Regions from separate parts of the Homo sapiens genome. Here region 2 is linked to region 1. Evidence: promoter capture Hi-C in 16 types of primary human blood cells and fetal thymus (Javierre and others, 2016). All regions are on one chromosome and are shown on one strand. Each heading gives the region's core, a stretch centred on a gene start or on the middle of the fragment in contact. The rest is flanking DNA. Distances are from core to core; before and after follow the strand shown.

Region 1 (7,051 bases), core at 78-2,577:
ACATTAGCCAAACCCCTGCCTTGGGCTAAAAGGCGCTGCTACAGTCATGCCACTTCCCCAACTACATCACAGGGCACTCCGGCCCTGGCTCTGTTTGCTTCAGCCACATGGCCTTCTGGCTGTTTCCAACCTAAAAGTCCTTCTCATTGGCTCTTCTCTCCACCCAGAAAACCCATTGTCTCGGATCCCCGCAAAACCGTGGCCTCCTTTGAACGACCTTACCCGATTTCGAGGGGCCCTCCCCCCATCTTCTGTCACCTCATCCGGTCTTTGGGGGGCATTTCTCACTTGCTGATACCTTCTTTATTGATTTACTTAACTCTCTCCTGCACACGAATGGAAGGTAACGGAGCAACACCCTACTCTCAGGTTTGAAGAGCAAGAGAATTACGAAGCTGGCTCTCACGGTCCTAGGGAGTCTCCGTTCCTGTACGGGACCTGGTGTGGGTCAACGTTCCCCAGCCAGACACCTCTCGCCCCCGGACCGGCCCCTACCATCTCCCATTTACATTCGGGGGTCCAAAAGATTCACAGCCTCCGAGGGGGCCCCACGCCGGCACCTGAGCGTCCCCACACCAGGCCTCCCCTCTTGGACGCGCGAGCCACTTCCGTGAGGCAGGTCCCCGAGGCCGGTGGCGATGACACCGAGCCGCCCCCGCGAAGCTGGGGTCACACAGGCCCGTCTCCCGGCAACGCCGCAGCCCAACCTCCAAACCATCCCTGCCCGTGGGGAGCCAACCCCTTCCCCGCCAGTCTCCCGCGCCTGGAGTCGGCGCCTCCATCCCCTACACTCACTCTGCGTCAGTCCTGCCTTCCCCCACCCACAGAAGCGCGCAGCCCGCGGCGGGCTGGGAGGAGGCGGCGCCAGGAGCCCAGCAGAGCCGTGGCCGACCGAGCACAGGCTGGTCCAGTAGGCCAGGCCGGACCAAACCACCGGGCCCACCTCTGTGGGAGCACCAGTTCCAGGTCTGGGGGAGTCTCGACTGACTGACTCTACCCATCTCCCGCCGCATCCAACAATAAGCTGAGCTCCTCCTCCCCCTATTTTTCCTTTACGCTTTCATTATCCTCCCCGCTCCATTCCCGTAAAACAAGAAAAAAAAATGGTCCAGCCCAGCTCCCTCCGGGTTGCTAGGTCTTTGCCCTTACTTGGCGACGGCTTCGTACGTCTTTATGTGCGTCGTGACGCAATCTTCCACTCGTTCCCTCCTTGCCCCTCTCCCATTCTCCCTCCTGGAGCTGGCGGCCGGCGGGGTTACCGGAAGTGATGATGCAGGAGGCGATGGAGGGGGCGGGGCTTCGGGGCGGCCGCCGCCGGTGGGCCGCAGATGAAGAGGAGGCGGTGGCAGTGGTGGAAGAAGAGGCGGCGGCGGCGGGGGTAGGGAGCCTGGAAACGCGAGCGGGGATGGTAGGTGGTTTGGACCCGCCGGGCCGCCGTCGTTTCCAGAAAGGGTTTGACTGGAGGAACCTCTGGAGCAGCTGTGAGTTTTGGGGAGGGGGGGAGTTGAGGAAAAGGCGGGGGGGCATTGAGAGATGAAGGGGCGGGGGTTGGGTACCTTCGAGAAAGGGGGGTGGAAAGGGAGGAGTGGAAGTCAGCGCGTTGTCTGGAGTGGTACCTCTGAAAGAAGAGGCTGTGAGGGGAGCCTGTGGCGTGTCAGCCGCAGGGCTCAGAAAACTTACCTACTGTCCCTGCCTCCCCACCGCCAGCACCCCTCAACCCAGGGCCTGGGGATATGGGGTTGGAGCTGCCCTGGAGGGGGTGCAGACTCTGGTCCTCTGTCCTGGGTGAGCGCTGTGAGGTAGGAGCCCTAGGGGGAGGTGGTGGGTGAATCTCCCAGCTCCCTCCGCCCTCATTTCCCTCCCCACCCCCATCGTTCTCTTTAATCATTAACAGCCCTGGAATTAAGGGGCTCAGACCTGAAGGCCTTTTTGTGCACCTTTGCTATAAACGATAACCATCTGTGTCCGAGGTAATGAGGCTGGAGGCTTTGCCTGTATCCTCTATAGGAAGTGGGACGGGGTGACAAATGTATTGTTTGTTCCTCCACCACACCCCCCGCACTTCTCACCCCTCATCCTCCCCCATGCACACCCCTGGTTTCCACTTTAATTCTCTGTGGCTGAGTGGCAATAGTGGATTTTTTTTTCTTCCCCTTTCCTCCTTTATGGCACTTAGTGCCTTGGTTACCTCTTTTGAATTTGGTGTTCAGCCTCTATCCCAGATCTTAACTGTAAGCTTTGTAATACTTCATACAGGCTGTCACGTTGGGAGTACCTCTTACGCTCCGATTATAATGAGCATTTTCTTTTATGAATACTGGAATTCCAGAGCCTTTGCAAGGAATCCTGAATGGCATCATAGCCCAGGAATCAAGGTCTCTTGCTCGAAATACTTTATGTGTGAGGAATTTACATGTTGTCAGCTCTTCCCAAAATGATTTGCTAGGCTAATTCTGGATTTCTGTGTTTCTCTCCACCCACTTTTCATGATGCACTTCAGAGAACAGAAAACCCCATATTACTTTTTTGTTTCTACAATTGGACAATAGCTCTTTTATGTTTTTCTCCATTTATGTGTGACACACAAATCATCAGTGACACGTTCAGCTTGTGCTGATTTTCATCTTTACGTAGCTGATTCTTTGTGTATGGGGGTCCTAAATGAGACAGTGTGATCTGTTTAGTTTTGGTTTAAGGGCGAATACAAACCAATAACGGATGTGAAAAAATTATTTGAAGCAAAGAATGGAAAGAAGGCCTCTTTGTTGATATGCTGTTGGTTTAAAAAAAATCAAGGAGCACTCTTCTAGCCTCTCAGACAGATATCAGAGTGAAGTGTTATGATTTTCCTTTTGGTGTTGATACATTCTTCGGAAATCTTTTGTAGAATCTGAAACTGTTTTCTGAAGAACTTTAAGAGATAGTGCCTACATTTTCGGAGTCCTTTGATTAGAAAGTGCCCGTAAGTCCTGTCCTTCTGTAACTGAGCTTGATATGCATAGTGCTAGGAAGATCTGATGCTAGGAAGTCCTATTCAGGGCTTTCGGGCCCTAAAAAACAGAATATTTAATGCTTGATTATACCAGTAACAGCGTGTTTAGATGTTTCACAAAAATACAACAGAAGAATGACTACTGTTCTCACTTTAACTGATTTAGAACCTAGTTTGCCATTGACTAAAAAGTTCACAGTTCATTAATTCAACAAACATTTATTGACTCCTAAGTGCTAGCCAGTGTTTCAGGCACTGGGTGTACACAGGTGAACACAAGCAAAAGGTTCACCCTTTCATGGAGCTTACATCGGAGTGGGAGCTGGGGACAGAGAGAGACATAATATATATCCCAGTAAACCAGATTTTGATCAAGCGCTGAAGAAAATAAGAGTGATGTGATTGAAAGTGTCTTAACTGTAGATGCAGTCAAAGAGGATCTTTCTGAGGAAGTGACACTTAAGTTGAGCTTTAAGTATAAAGAAGGAGCCAGCCATCCAAAGAAAAGGGGAAGATCCTTCCAGGTTCAGGGAACAGCTGGTGCAGAAACTGGCTGGAATGCGCTTGTCAAGTTCCAGGGAATGGGAAGAAAGGGTCAGGGTAGGTGGGAGGTAGTGGAAAGAGGATGGGTTGGGTGAGTAATAGCCAGAGCTTAGTGAACACGGGGGAGAGTTGGAGATAAGGTCAGAGAGGTGGATATGGGGCTCAGAATAGGTAGGCAAACAAATTGCCAGAAGGAGTAGGAAGTAGAAAATGATGCTGCTTGTTGATTAATTCTGTCGCCTTAACTAGGGTCTTATCACTTACTGTTTTTGCAGGTACTGTTGGACTATCATAATAAAGTCACTCTGCTGAGTGGGAGAGGAAGAGGCAGTGGTCACCTGGGTCTTTTCTGGCAGATAAATTTCAAGCTGGGTGTTCAGATTTTCAGCAGGATGTTCAATTGAGGACACACCTCTTTCTTTATTTTGTCTTATATACTGCTGTTTAAAACTGCATAATAAGTTCTCTGAATGTGTTCTAGTATACGAATCCTCCTTTGTTTCCAGCTCTGTATGAATTTAAGGACTGGGCAAGTGTTAATAATATGCCCTTATCCATCTACCAAGATGACCATCAGGATCTAAGTTTCAAGTTGTCTTTTGTAGGGAGGCAGTTTATGTTGCAATAGTTCCACTCTTGTCTGATCCTTCTGATGACTAATAACACTCAGCTGAGGTGTAGGTTGGTACTAAAAGTTCACTCAGTGGATTACATTAGATAAATGACCATTGTGGGGCTCAATTCCACTGTGTCGGCATCTTTGGGCTGGCACGTAACCAAGGGATGTAACCTACTTTTGCCTTCTGCTGAGGGCATTCATCTCTAATGGTGTGCTGCTTTTCAGCCTCACCTTGACCAGACCGTCCACTTGAGAGGCCCAATCAAGACTCCTTGATTTGGCCCTCTTGAGCCATGTCACACTGGGCTGAAACAGAATATGCTTTTTTCTTCTCTTGAACCCTACAACAGTGACTAGTGTGTTCTTTGAGTGAATTGGCTCTTTGAGCCAGGCAGTTGAGAGACTTAAATGTTGCTTGGGCTATTTGTAGTAAACTCAGTATTAGAAATGCTAAATAAAACCTTTTAGTGTTTGGGGAAAACGAATCAGAAATTGAGGACTTGTCACCTGTTTTAGGTTCTAGTATTCTCGTGGCACCTGTAGAAGGATTATCGAAAACTTGAACAGAGCTTTCTGGGCAGTTCTGGGGGCAATGAAGGGGACGAGGTAGATCCTGGTACTGAATTACTAATTCTGATTTGATTGCAAACAGAATGTCTTTTAGTTAGCAAGCAAATGACTAAAGTAAACATCTAGGAACAGGCAACTTCTACTCTTCATACTAGAGTATCTCAAAGGAATAGAGAATTGGTAGTGAGATTTGTTAATTTAATTATTTGGCTTTGGCCCAGGTTAAAGGTTTTGGACTTAACTTATATGCTGATGCTTGGCATAAAATGCTCTATCTGATGGGTTATTAAGCTCTCCACTTCATTTTCATTTCAATGGTTTATTGTAACTCAAATATGAAAATATCCTGTAGGCTGAAGTTTCATCAGCCAGTTTGGAGACTGGTGGCTCTTTTCTAATTTTTGAAAGGGGGCGGGTGGGTAGGAGGGGACTTGAACACAAGGAGAAGCCATTGTCTCCTACATTGGCTACTAATTGTGTTTGGGGAAAGAATCCACAAATTTAAGTGGATTGGATTTTCGGAGCTGAGCTGGCCTTTTAATTTAGGGTACCAGTGGATTTATTTCTTACACTTTGCAGGCTTTTGGACAAACTCTTCTGAAAGGTGGGCAACCTAGAAAGCCAGTTGATGCCACTTGCTATTGGAGTTGTGGGTAAGTGGTTTTACATTGCATTACACGACTAAAAGGTAATCAGATTTTGCTACTGTTTTGGTGTACAGATGCTCTTTGATTTACAGTGGGGTTACCTTTTATAACCCCATCATAAGTTGAAAATATTGTTAGTAAAAAAATGCATTTAATATACCTCACCTACCGAACATCATAGCTTAGCCTAGCCTACCTTAAACATGCCAAGAACCTGCATGTTTGGCATGTTTGGCAAATGCATCTAATGAGCCTATTTTATAATAAAATATTGAATATCTCATGTAATTTATTGAGTGAATACTGGAAGTGAAAAACAGAATGGTTGTGTAAGTACTTGAAGTAGTCTGGGACTGTCTATGTGCTGAAGTAAGGACATTTAATTGTGCAGTAGTTGCCAGTTGTTTTGAGGTGAAGAAGTGGTAACTTAGATTGAAACAATGGTAATGACGTGGTAACTCCTGTTTTCCCGGGTCTTGATAACTTAAAATTATCTCTTTGTGTCTGTTTAGACTGTTCTGGAGCTCTTTGCACAATGGACCAGGGTTAATTGAGTTAGTGTCTTTCAGTTCAAATCTAGTTTCACTAGTTCTTACGTCTGTGTTCCTAGATGATGGTGAATCCTATTCTTTTGGGTGGTGAGAAGGGATTACCACAGAACTTGACCGTTTAATCAGTGAATAATTACAAACTAGAGCGTAACATATTTACATCCCCTTGGTATCCTGGGGGATTGGTTTTGGACCCCTTAGTTACCAAATTCACAAATGATCAAGACTTACATAAAGTGGTAGTATATGGGAAGGTGCAGGGAGTGGCGGTGATGCACATCTGTAGTCCCAGCTACTCAGGAGGCATTTCCAGATTACTTATAATGCCTAATACAGTTTGGGTGTGGTGGCTCATTCCTGTAATCCCAGCACGTTAGGAGGCTACTACAAATACCTGCCCCCTTTTTGTTTTATTATGTGGGAGGATTGCTTGGAGGCCAGGAGTTCAAGTCCAGCCTACGCAAGATAGTCAGGCCCTGTCTCTAAAAAAATTTAAAAAACTTAGCCAGGCATGGTGGTGCATGCCTGTAGTCCCAGCTACTGGGGTGGCTAAGGCAGGAGAATTGCTTGAACCCAGGAAGTTGAGGCTGTAGTAGCCGTGATGGAGCTGCTGCACTCCAGCCTAGGTGACAGAGCAAGACCCCATCTCAAAAACAACAGCCAAATACAATGTAAGTGGTATGTAAATAGTTGCTATGCTGTATTTTAAAAAATTCATATTATTTTTTATTGTTGTATTGTTATTAGGTTTTTTTTTTCCAAATATTTTTGACCCATGGTTGGTCGAATCTGCCAATGTAGAACCTATTGATACAGATGGCCAATTGCACTGAAAATGAAAGAAAAGATTGGAAGTGGCTCAAACTCTTATTCTTTGAAGTTGTGACATGTTGAAAGAAGAGAATGGCAGATAGGGAAATCATTTTCTTTAAGATGTGTGCAAATGAGACCTTCTTTAAATACCATACATCAGAACAGGGAAGCTTAGTAAATCAGTCTTGAGGTGGTGATTAGCTCTTGTGGCAAAATAAGTCACCTGTGCCCAGAGCCTGGATACCAGCCTGGTTGCATGCAAAGGCAGACATGTCAATGACTTCGTCTACCTTCCTGAGGGCTTGACCTTGTTCAA
Region 2 (6,974 bases), core at 673-3,172, 400 kb before region 1:
AGAGTCCTGACTCCAAAACAGCCTGGCCAGGAATAAGTACACATCAACATCCTGGTCCTAAATATGAAACACCCCCCACCCTTATCCCTCATAACTTGGATGCAACCCTTGTAAGGGAAAAGGAGGGTTGGAAGGAGCATGAACCTAAAATGCCTGAAAATTATTAGGGCAACCTGCCAAACTGTAGTCGCAAAAGAACAAATAGTTATTGGAAATTAAGCAATTACATGGTTCATAGCCCTGAATTATTAGAATTAAATTTATACTTACTATTTAATTTCAGCTCCTTTTCTAAAAAGCACTGAACTGCTTTAACTGAAACACTGTAATTTTCTTAATTGTACTTAAATATGTTTCTTTTCTTTTAAATTTTCTGCCTACTTTGCATAAAATGAGGTAGCCAAGACCACCTTAAAGTTCTCAGCTTGACTTGAAAAGGCTTTTTCCTGACTCTAGGCCCAAAACTTTCTTTTCTTAGAGCATGATATGGTTTGACTCTGTGTCCACACCCAAATCTCATCTTGTAGCTCCCATAATTCCCACGTGTTATGGGAGGGACCCTGTGAGTGATGACTGAATCATGGGGATGGGTTGTTCCCGTGCTCTTCTCATGATAGTGAGTAAGTCTCATAAGAACTGATGGTTTTCAAATGGGGAGTTTCCCTGCACAAGCTTTCTTGTCTGCCACTATGTGAGATATACCTTTCACCTTCTGCCGTGATTGTGAGGCCTCCTCAGCCACGTGGAACTGTAAGTCCAATAAACCTCTTTCTTTTGTAAATTGCCCAGTCTTGGGTATGTCTTTATCAGCAGTGTGAAAACAGATTAATACAGAGCATTTTCTTTAGAAAGCTTTTCACTGTAAATTCTTTCTCTGTCTTGAGATATCTGTAACTCTTTTTAATAGCCTCTTACTAGTTTTACAAACCAGAATCATCTTTGTCAAGGACCTGGGAGCCATTCCTTTGAAATGCAATCATCAAGGAAGACGGTCCCCCTATCTCCCAGTTTCTGTGGGAGGGTAGGAGCCTAACTTCCCTGAGAGCCAATTAGCAAACACAGCTGGCCTAATCACGGAGGAAACACTTGTAAACTCAGCAAACAACTCAGTATGCTTCCGACAGCCCTCCAGCACCTTTCTACTCTCATCCTAGAGCTTAAAAACCCTGCCCCACTTTGTTTCAGCAGAGTTAGTTTAGACTGAGTTCTGGTCTCTCTTCCCTAGGACAACAGCTTTGCATAAAGTATTCCTTACATATGTGACTTTCTCTGGTGTAATTTATGCTTTCACAAAGGAAAACTAAGACAAATTAAACTACCTATAATCACTGAACTTCCACAGCCCCTTCTGCCATTTATGGAACACTTAACATGTTCTCGCAATGTAAGTATCAGGACTGCCCTCTGAGTTGGATACAATAGCATCCTTTCCTCTTATAGTTATTTTCAGATATAAGCCTTAGGAAATGGAGGCTTAGAGAAACCAAGCAATTTGCCATAGGTCACAGCAAATAAATTCTGGACTAGTCAGGACTAGGGACAAGGCATTTGCCTCCAAAGTCAGTGCGTTCAAGCACTTTGCATAGCCAATATAAAATTCCTAACAGTGCTTCTATTTGATTTGATTGTGTGTATGTGTGTGTGGGTGTGTGTGTGTTGGCGGGGGGATGAGGAAGTCTCTGGAGGATTTATATGCGTGAGTTTTGTTTGGGGGTCGCCCTTTTGGGCTCTGCGCGCCCATCGCGGCTAGCGGGTGGGCCTCCCGGGCGTCGGGGAGCAGCTGCAAGCGCAGGGGGACGCCGGCAGAAGAAGGACGCGCCAGGACTCCCTAGCACGCACCCTCAGGCCTCGCCGCTGCCGCCTCCGCCTCCGCCGCTGAAGGGCGCGCGTCCACCCGGCGGGACTCCTCCTCCCAACGCCCTCCCCAACCACCAGCCGCCCGCGGGCAGGTTGGCAGCCTGGCCCTCGCGCGGACCCGGCCGGGAGCTGGCTGCACTAGGGCTGGGGGCGCGCAGTGCGCGGAGCGGTAGGAGTCAGCGGTGCGGAAGGCAGGAGGTGCGGGTGAAGCTGTCGGCGGTGCTCGAGGGGAGCACGCAAGAACCTCCTCAGTCCCTCTTCCGCACGTGCGCCCACGAGTGTAGTCCCCAGTTTGTTCCACCTATTATCCCGCAGCTCCAGTGCGCCCCACCTGTTGCCTCACCAGCCCAACGTTACTTCTTCCCTGCTTCCTCGCCAGCCCGTCTGGGGGCGGAGACCTCACCCACCGCCCCACCCACCTCGTCTCATGCTCCCACCCACCTCGTCCCATGCGCACACCCATCTCGTCCCTTGCGCTCACCCACCTCGTCCCATGCGCCCTACCCTATGCCCCAAGTCCCTGAAAGGGCCCCACCTAGGTACCCTTTTGGGTCGTCTTCAGGTTCTTTGCCTTGTCGACCCTCCTGGACGACCCCACATTTCTCCGCCTCTCGCGGGCTTCTCTCTCCCTCGTGTGCCATGGTCACCTTCAGCTGGCCCAGCCGCTGATGACAGAAGTTTAAGAAGATTCATGAGCCGCTGCTCCTCAGGGTCTACTGGAGTTTAGCAGATAACTTCCCAAAGGCCCGGGGTCCTGCAAACCCCTCATGCGGGCCACCCAAAAGATTCCGTCCTGGAGCAGACCCCGCGCCACGCGCGCTGTACTCGCGTTCCTTTTTCCAGCCAGCGCAGCCCTGCGGCTTCTGTCCGGGACGGTTCTGCGCGTGGGACGCCCAGCCCGCTTCATCTGCGCCCGCTGCCTTTACCCGCCAGCCACTCCGGCGTTTCCACCTCCGTGTATTTCTCATGCTCCCCACGTTCTATAATGCTTGCTCCTCTTGGCGCGCCCCACCCCAATTCTCGCATCCAGTGTGGCTTCCTGTTTAGAATCGCAGCTTCTGATTGGATCACAGGCCAAATTCACTCTTCCCTGCAATGCCGGATACGACTTGCTCCAGCTCCGAAGTTAAGCTTTGTCAGGAGAGGGCGCAAGAGGAACACTGCAGGACAAGGAGTTCTCTTCCTGGTTGGGGAAAAATCCAGGACTGTATAGAACATCCTCCGCCCCAAACTGGGAAAGGAGCCAACAGACCAAAGAATGACTCAGACCAGTCCAGCTTGATGAGTAGATGAGTTTATTGGGACTCACGTGTAGGGCATTTCTTTTTTTTTTCTTTTTCTGTTTTTTTTTTTTTTTTAAGAGGGAATCTCATGGCACCTCGTTTTCATCATCACTGGATGATTTCTCTGGGTTAGCAAAGGTCAGGAAGACTTGTTCCAGTGTGATCTGACAGAATAGTCTTCTAAATCAAATTGCTCTTTAGCTTGCTCCAAAATGCCAAACACCTTTAACAACAGCAATAAAAACACAGTTACCATTGCAATCTCCCCTTCAGCCCCCAACTCAGATGAGCCTCTCCTCCACTCCCCCACTCCTATCAAGTGTATGTTGGAGGACAAAAGGCACAGAAGGGTGAGGTGAGAAGGCGGAAGAACAGAGAATTGAGAAAGTGAGAGGAGGCCATCTCTTGATGGACATGGACTAATAGTCGGATTTAGGGGAAGAAATCAAGGCAATTAAACTCTAGGGGTGTTTGGAAAGTAACCTAACGCTGCTGCTCCTCCCAACAATGCCAGGCTCCCATTCCAAATGCCCGAATCCCAAATACTCCCCACCATTAGTGCTCTCTTACTTAACATGCAATGTTACAAGGGCAAGATTTCTACCATCACCTTTCCCCAGTCCTTGCTGGGAATGTAGCAGTTAAGGATCCCTTGGTTCTTGTGTTTTAAGACACTACTCAAGAAAGGATAATAGGACCGGTGAATAATCTTACACACTTAATTTGAAATCACCAAAATATTGCTACATTTACTTAACTATATACTTGAAGGGGTGGATAGAGGAGGTTAATACAAAAGGCAATATGACCTGCTAACCCAATCTCTTTGGTATCCATGATATAGTTAATGGTTTCGGCAGATTTATTCCTCATGAACTAGTCTTATTATGTGGAGTTCATAGCAATGATTGAGGGTACAAATATTAGCCAGTTCACCTGCCCAATGTAAAACACCTGAGCCTTCTAAAAGTCTAATGTGGTCAGGTGCAGTGGCTCACGCCTGTAATCCCAGCACTTCGGGAGGCCAAGGCGAGCGGATCACCTGAGGTCAGGAGTTTGGGACCAGCCTGGCCAACATGGCGAAACCCTGTCTCTACTAAAAATAGAAAAATTAGCCGAGCAGTGGTGGTGCACTCCTGTAATGCAAGCTACTCGGGAGGCTGAGACAGGAGAATCGCTTCAACCCAAGAAGCAGAGGTTGCAGTGAGCTGAGATCACGCCACTCAACTCCAACCTGGGTGACAGAGTGAGACTCTGTTTCAAAAAGTAAAAAAAAAATTAAAAAAAAAAACTAAAAGCCTAATGTTGCTACGAGACTTTATTCCTAAACGCAGTGCTGAGAATCTGAACCAGGATGTTTTCCTCCCGGCAGTGTGTGGGCAGGTACAGTGTGTTTGGTGGGGAGGACAACAGGAATAATCACAATAAGAACAAGATTAATAACAATAAGGATTAATCATAATAAGAATAATCATAGTAAGAATAGCCTCACGTGTGAAACAGGAAATCACATATAAATCACCAAAGTCAGGCCACTTGTTCTAGTTTCTTATACAGGTGAGTAATGATCCACTGGTGGAGTAGGAGGAAAGAGGGTGGTGTCTATTCCTAATTTAGAATAAACATTTGTATTTACACTTTTATTGCATATTTGTAGATTATAGCAAATGAAATTAACTGGGATTAAAAATGTTTGAAAAAACACATGTTTGTAACAGTGTGGGATTTTTCTTAATGTTAGTCTTAAAGCATGTATTGCCTTCATGATCACACAAATAAATATGAGATATTTCAAACATCGAGCTTAATGAATTATTTAAAGCAAATACACACAAAACCACCCTATCCAGGTCAAGTAATAATAACCCATACATTCCCATGGGCTATTTCCCAGCTTCTGTCCTCTATAAAAAGTATCCATTGCTTTTATTGTTATTTGAGCAATTCCCTAACAGTTCCCTTTTTATCATTTTATCTACACATGCACCCCTAAAATTGTGATTTCAATTTTTCTACTTCTGAACTTTATATGAATGGAATCATCCAGTATTCATTCCTTTCTTTCTGCTTCACTCAATATTATGTTTGGAAACTTCACTCATGTTGCATGTAATTATAATTCATCATTTTCCTTTCTGCACAGTAATCTGGTATATGAATGTTGTATATTTCCCATTTGTTTACTAATAGAGACATGCGGGTTGTTTTTAGTGTTTGACTTTTGTGAATATAACTTATTTGAATATTATTTTACGTATCTCTTGGGAGAAGTGGATGCAAGTATCTCGGGTATATACCTAAAGGTAGAATTTTTGGGTCATTGCTTTTTGTAAAATTGGTTAAGCCAACTTTAGCTTTCCCTTGGAGGTACACAGAACTGGTGAATATCCCTTTCACTCTTCACATAAGGAAAGGCTGGACAAACTGCAAATTAATAGCTTTTATTTAACCTATCAGTTCTCTGATTGGGCAAATACTGGACAAACACCTAACTCAGCATCATGGGAGAGACAGGTGCCTGCAGGGAGCAACAGGACAAGCATCTACTTATACAAGGCAGACACTGAAAATGATATATCAATTGGTAAGAAGATTTAAACATTTTTTAATGCATTGCTAAAGGCCAAGTATTGGTCTAGCATGAGAACATAAAGATCATTCTTTTATTTTTAACCTCTGTGATACAGTTTGCTTTAGTTGTGTTTCTTACATACCGCAGAGTTGGATTTTGCTTGTTAGCCAATCTGAAAAATATTTTTTTCATCTAGTCAGAGAATTAAGCCTTTCTATGTTTACTGAGAGGACCAATATGTTCTATAGAAGTTCTCCCACACTGTTCTGTAATTACATGTCAATGGAAATACACATATCTACATACATGCATAAGACACTCACATGGCACATATCCCCACTCTGGTTGGTTCTATTTATTGTTATATTCATGATACAGAAACATTTATGCATTTTTAAAATATGTATCAATTATGTTATATTTTATCACACAGATACCTTTCATTTAGCCCAAATTTTAGAGGCACATATAGTCAATGCCCACCATTAGTTCTTACACACAAGCTCTGCCAATCAATTTTTAGTTAATGGGAATTTTTTTCATTTGTATATTCTTCAGGAAGAGCTAATAGAAACAGCATTCCTTGTGTTCATGAGTCTTTGTGACTCTTTTCTCTTTTTTTTAGATGGAGTTTTGCTCTTGTTGCCCAGGCTGGAGTGCGATGGTGAGATCTCAGTTCTCTGTAACCTCTGCCTCCCGGATCAAGCAATGGTCATGCCTCAGCCTCCCGAGTAGCTTGGATTACATGCATGTGCCACCATGCCCGGCTAATTTTTCGTATTTTTAGTAGAGATGGGGTTTCACCATGTTGACCGGGCTGGTCTCGAACTCCTGACCTCAGGTGATCACCTGCCTTGGCCTCCCAAAGTGCTGGGATTACAGGCGTGAGCCACCGCGCCTGGCCTTTTGTGACTTTTAATCTTGAAGGTCACTTCGACTGGAGGTAAAAACCTTGCTTGTGTTTTTCTTTCATTGAATATCTTTATTTATTTTTCATTTTTATTTTTAGAGACGGAGTCTTGCTCTGTCGCCCAGGCTGGAGTCGGTGGCGCGATCTCGGCTCACTGCAAGCTCCACCTCCCAGGTTCACACCATTCTCCTGCCTCAGCCTCCTGAGTAGCTAGGACTACAAGTGTCTGCCACCATGCCCGGCTAATTTTTGTATTTTTAGTAGAGACGGGGTTTCACCGTGTTAGCCAGGATGGTCTCGATCTCCTGACCTCATGATCCGCCCGCCTCAGCCTCCCAAAGTGCTGGGATTA

Evidence for each region. Contacts are between HindIII fragments. The CHiCAGO score rates a contact against its expected background, and 5 or more counts as called.
Region 2: a contact is called between a fragment that was not itself captured here and the fragment with the promoter of DCUN1D3 in region 1, in 7 of 17 cell types (M1 macrophages, M0 macrophages, monocytes and 4 more). The highest score is 10.9, in M1 macrophages.

What each region holds. Positions count from the first base shown.
Region 1 is chr16:20,894,634-20,901,684 of GRCh38, reverse strand. It overlaps DCUN1D3 (defective in cullin neddylation 1 domain containing 3), which reads left to right and starts at 1,327. Exons shown (of 3, transcript NM_173475.4): 1 at 1,327-1,481. LYRM1 (LYR motif containing 1) reads right to left here and starts at 914. Exons shown (of 4, transcript NM_001128302.3): 1 at 796-914. RefSeq lists enhancers at 1-722, 723-1,508, 1,718-1,767. The HindIII fragment of the contact is 5,697 bases long and covers 1-2,238 here.
Region 2 is chr16:21,296,754-21,303,727 of GRCh38, reverse strand. It overlaps a transcript of CRYM not described here and the pseudogene ABCA15P. Among named protein-coding and RNA genes, the nearest start is that of CRYM, 22 kb to the right of the region's middle. RefSeq lists an enhancer at 752-1,340 and a silencer at 1,783-2,042. The HindIII fragment of the contact is 2,136 bases long and covers 855-2,990 here.